Regions from separate parts of the Homo sapiens genome. Here region 1 is linked to region 2. Evidence: promoter capture Hi-C in human tissues and cell types (Jung and others, 2019). All regions are on one chromosome and are shown on one strand. The core of a region is centred on a gene start or on the middle of the fragment in contact, and the rest is flanking DNA. Distances in the headings are between cores, read along the strand shown.

The links. Contacts are between HindIII fragments. The study calls those that stand out against the background at their distance.
Region 1: a contact is called between a fragment that was not itself captured here and the fragment with the promoter of HEATR5B in region 2, in 1 of the 25 tissues and cell types used here (spleen).

Annotation. Positions count from the first base shown.
Region 1 is chr2:38,625,612-38,628,311 of GRCh38, forward strand. No RefSeq gene overlaps it. Among named protein-coding and RNA genes, the nearest start is that of HNRNPLL, 24 kb to the left of the region's middle. The HindIII fragment of the contact is 3,443 bases long and covers 1-2,700 here.
Region 2 is chr2:37,083,118-37,085,817 of GRCh38, forward strand. HEATR5B (HEAT repeat containing 5B) reads right to left here and starts at 1,255. Exons shown (of 36, transcript NM_019024.3): 1 at 1,152-1,255; 2 at 172-319. The coding sequence starts at 297. GPATCH11 (G-patch domain containing 11) reads left to right here and starts at 1,401. Exons shown (of 9, transcript NM_174931.4): 1 at 1,401-1,453. RefSeq lists enhancers at 763-862, 1,333-1,492. The HindIII fragment of the contact is 9,229 bases long and covers 1-2,700 here.

The DNA of each region.
Region 1 (2,700 bases), core at 73-2,572, 1.5 Mb after region 2:
ACGCCCAGCTAATTTTTTGTATTTTTAGTACAGATGGAGTTTCACCATCTTGGCCAGGCTGGTCTCGAACTCCTGACCTCAGATGATCCACCCACCTTGGCTTCCCAAAGTGCTAGGATTACACACATGAGCCATGGTGCTCTGCCCCCATTCACTTTTTCAATAAATATTTATTAATTGTGTTTTATGGACAAGGTACATATGTCTTTTATGAACTAGGTATTTCAGGGAATGCAATTGTGAGTAAACCATGATTCTCATTTGTCTTCTGAGCGATTATAATCTAGAACAGACAAGATGTGTACACAAATTACGATTTTTAAAATTTGCTACTTTGTAAGGGTCAGAAGAGTTTTAAAGACAGTGAATCAAACCTCTTGTGTGGCCCTAACCCCCAAATGCTCTGTAACCATCTCTCATAGCTCAAGAGCAGCTTGCATTTAGATGGGTGATTTGTCATTTAAAGAAATATGTCAATCATCATTAAAGATACATGGAAAAATGAAACTGGTTTATTTGTTAAAGTAGTGGAATTATGGGTGATTTTTCCCCAGTGGTTTTGATTTACATTACCATTATATAATGGTGCTTGAGCTTTGTTATGTTTAAAAGAAAAAGCTGGAATTGTTGTCATCCACAACCCAGCTCCAGGGACTGATTCCCAAGTTAGCTTAGCTCATCTCTGAATTAATCTCCTGAGGATCTGAGAAAACTCTATAGAGTTCCACAGAAGACTGCCAGCTTTACATAGTCACAGGAACGTATCTTTAAACCATTTGAGGATGTTTTCTATATTGTATGTAACATGAAATGGTTTTTAAATGGTGTTAAACCTTTGAAAAGTGATGTGCTTGTAGAACTGTCTTCTTAAGACCCACTGTGGGATTTTTCCCCTCCCCCCACATCCTTTTGATGTCAGTGATAACAGTCCCACAAGGGCACACTGTCAGTTAACTAGATAGGAAGCTTCGTTAGGCAAGCAGGTGTCAGCAGTGGCACAATCTACTAATTTATAAATGAGTGTATTAGGGTTCCCTACAGGGACAGAACTAATATATATACGTATACATAAACGGGAGTTTATTAAGGGGTATCGACTCACACAATCACAAGGTGAGGTCCCACAATAGGCTGTCTGCAAGCTGAGGAGCAAGGAGGCCAGTCCGAGTCCCAAAGCCTCAAAAGTAGGGCAGCCAACAGTGCAGCCTGCAGTCTGTGGTCTAAAGCCCAAGAGTCCCAAAGCTGCCCTCAAAGACTTGCAGTCTGATGTCTGAGGGCAGGAGGTATCCACCACAGGAGAAAGACGGAGGCCAGAAGACTCAACTAGTCTAGTCTTTCCACATTCTTCTGCCTGCTTTTTTTTATGGCCATGCTGCCAGCTGATGAGATTGTGCCCACCTAGGTTGAGGCTGGGTCTGCCTTTCTCAGTCCACTGACTCAAATGTGAATCCCCTTTGGCAACACCCTCACAGATACACCCAGGAACAATACTTTGCATCCTTCAATCCGATCAAGTTGACACTCAATATTAACCATCACAATGATCATTACCTGACTACTTGCATTTAACACCAATCTAAGCTAAGAGTCCTCTGATGAGAAACTGGGCTCTACAAATATGAAGAAAGATTTCTCTGAGCCCTTGGCAGCCATTAAGCTACTCCCATTAACAGCCTCCCTTATACTCTGTATAGGATTCCCCACTCATAAAGAAGGGCATGGGGACTGCATCAGCCTTTAATAAGATATGATTCCTGAAACTGCAATGACCATCTTGGACCGTGAGAAAACGAAGGAGAAAATCACAAAGGTGCCGTTCCTGCCATAATTGGGATATTGAACCAATTCCTGCAGCTGCTACCTCCAACTTCTTGTTTTGTCACAATAATAAATGGCTATTTGTTTAAGCCACTATAGTCTGGTGGTGGGTTACTTGCAGTTGAATGTAATCCTTAGTGATATGAGACTGTGGCCATAGCAGTGCTAACATTGCAGATCAAACAGCTTTACAAACAGTGATTGTAACTCGACTTAACTCTTTCCAGGGTCAAGAACTCTCTGCCTTCTAACATCTGAATTCCATTTTTCTCTGTTTGTTTCAGTATGTGTCTTTCATGTTGCAGGTTTTCTTGAAATGTCAGAATCCTTGGCTGATCATTAGTTTTTAAGAGTGCCTCCTAAAAAGGCTCTTTGGAAGCTCCGGGTGCATTGGCAAGGTGTGTTGCCTAAAGGGCTTTTCTGCAGGACAATTAGATGGTGAACCAGCTTTATTATTGGGGGACCCTGTAATGTCAGCAGCAGCCCCTCCAGAGAGATACTTCCACCATTTCTCCTCATCACCTTCCCCCTCCACTGTTCCCAACCCCAACTCCAGCCTCTCCAGTGATCTGAGACTTTCAGGAAAGAACTTAGGGAAAATAGATCTTTATTTTAGAGGATGATATGGCCAGAGTGTATCTGAAGCTCTGTGTCAAGTAATGTTATAGCAGTGCTCTATAATTCTTGTTGATATCACTGTGTTCTGTACTCAGTGACAGCCTAACTGGAAAAAATTTAAGTAATAATAATGATATTTGACATATTAAGAACACACCATGTGCCAAGCAGTTCGTTAAACACTTTATACATATTAACTCATTAATCCTACCCAGCCAAGTATACTCTTGGTATCCCATTGTACCAATGAGGAAAGGGAGGCTA
Region 2 (2,700 bases), core at 5-2,504:
TGGATTTAAACGAGGTTTGAGTTTTGCCACTAAATTTCCCATTCGTGTAATACTCTCAAGTTCCATAAGTGACCCATAAACCTTCCAAAACATAACATGTGTTTTCTTAAGAATCATGACCACATAATCTCTTCACGTTAATGCAACTGGGAAAAAAGAGCAATACCATACCTTGTTGGCAGCAACCAAGACTTTATCAAGAAATCGCAACCATTCAAAGATGAAAACTGGTCTTTTTGCTTCGGTGATTTGAGCCAAAGCTTCTTCATTTAGCAATAAACTGTGGGCTAACTCCATTACGGAAGTTTGAAATTCACACCTTAAATTTAACAGAGTAAAAAATACTTGTAAGTATTTTTTAATGTTAAAAGTCAAGCTTAATGGAATATACTCACTAAGAAAAGTAGGACTACTCATTTCATTTGGGGAAAAACTCAACTTCTTTGAGGCAAAACCTGAGAACATACTTTTAAATGACAAAAATACAAACAAAAACAGAAGAAAACTACTTGGTAAGGAAGAGTGACTCATGGAGTGAAAAGAAAATTAAAAGAAATTATTGCCAAAAAAGGCATTATTCCAGAAGAAATATGTCCAGCAACACATATGTCATTTACCCGTTCTATAAATGAAAAAACTGAAGCACTAAGATCAAACACCCCAGCCGGGCTTGACAACCATCCTCCTCTTTTTCTCGTCCAGGGTTCGGTACATAGCACCTTTACCCTCCCGCGCTGCACCTGGCCAGAGGGACTGAGGTCAAAACACCCAGCACAGACATCCCGAACTGCAGGTCTCCAAGACTCTTCCTACGCGGATGGGTGGGGCGGCCAGGCCCGGCGGCCGAAGCGTCAGTGACAACACCAGGCGGTCCGGAATGCACCCGAGAAGCCTCGCGCGCTCGGGGTCTGGCTTCACCTGGCTACTCCAAGAACCGCAAGCGGCGGACCCGGGGAAACACCAAGAGGCCGCCGCAAGCCTCCGTGGGGTTCCGCAGGCTGTCAATAGCACGAGGCGGCAGCTCGGAACTAAGCACGGAGCCAGAAAAGGGAAAATGTTCATTACGAACTCAAATGTCTTCCCCACCCGTCTGAAAATGTACGTCGGACAGGAGTCCGTGCGTGTCAACATGCATGCTTCGGCGACCTCACCTCGTAGTCTGGAAGGGAAGATCAGCTGAGCTCCGGGGGTAGAAGCAGCCACCAAGAGACCCGGATGCCCCACCTCCCGCACTCCTACCTGCAGGAAACAAGGGAAGAGCGCTTGCGCGGAGGGCTGGTCTTGCGCAAGCGCAGTCACCACGTCCTCCTATCCCCACCCGCCGCGAATTTCCAATAGAGTCTGCACTAGGAAACTGGTGGGAGCCGAGGTCCGGAAGTCCGACGCTGGTCGGTGGGCGCATGCGCAGCGCGCGCTCTACGGCGCTGAACCGGGGCGAGCAGAGAGCTGTCAGGTAAGAGAGCTGTCAGGTAAGGGTCTGGGGACAACCGGTAGAATGATAAAAGGCAGAGTGCGCTGGCCATGACTACCGTATCACACCGTCAGCCACTTTTCCATCCGTGGGTGGTTGCGTCTGTGGGACGCTTGCAGCCAGGAGGAACGCGTGAGGGAAGGGATCAGCGGTTCCTGAGCGTAGTATTGAGAGTGGGACGTTTCTTGTCACATTTATACTGTAGGTCCATTTCTCCACTTGTATATGTAATGGGACTCTCAATATGTCTGTTTCCCGACTACGCCCCCTAAAAAAACAAAAACAAACCTACTCCTACAGTCTTCCCACTCTCAAAAAACGTTAACTCCGTTCTTCCATGTATTCAGGCCAAAAACTTAGCGTTATCTTGACATCGTTCTTTACGTACTACCTACAACATCAGCAAATCCTGTAAGCTCTACCTTCAAGTGTACCCCAAATGCGACCACTTGCATTGCTATCACTCTGGTACGAGCCTCCATCATCTCTGCCAGGGTATCGCCTTGTGAAGTTTATGCTTATCTTTGATGGAAATGGATAATGCTAAAGTATATTTTACCAATAGAAAGAGAGCTTTAAAAGCAACCTGTAACCCCATTCAGATGTGCCTGGCACTTTAAAGTTAAGTAGGTCTCTTAAAAACAATGTAATCCTATTTGCAAGGCACTATGACCCGGATTCTTTGTGGTTTTGAAATAGTCATTTAGCCATACTGAACCTTAATTTCTCCAACAGGAAAAACTCTTCCTACCTTGTAGAGTTGTTAGTGGTGGTTAAATGTGATAAAAATGTGTGATATACTGGGTAAGTGTTAAACCATTATGTGTAAAAATGCTGTTATTACCAATGAAGAATCTGAGGTTTAGAGGAAGCGGGTGAATTACCATAAATGCTGTATATAATAGTGCACGTTTTTAACTTATAATAAAAATAGGTAAACTAAACTGTAATGTTTAAAGATGCACACGTGGATGACAAAACTATCGAGAAAATGAAGGAAATGATTGCCATAAAAAACAGAATAGTGACTATTCTTAGAACCAAAAGAGAGTTGCAACTGGATAGGGGACAAAGAGGGCTCCCAGGTGCCTGATAAGGTTCTACTTCCTGATAACTTTTGCTACATAACAAATTATCCCCAAATGTAGCAGCTTAAGATAACTGTAATCATTTGTTATCTCACAGTTTCTATGGGTCAGGAATTTGTTAGCAGCTTAGCTTAGTTTAGC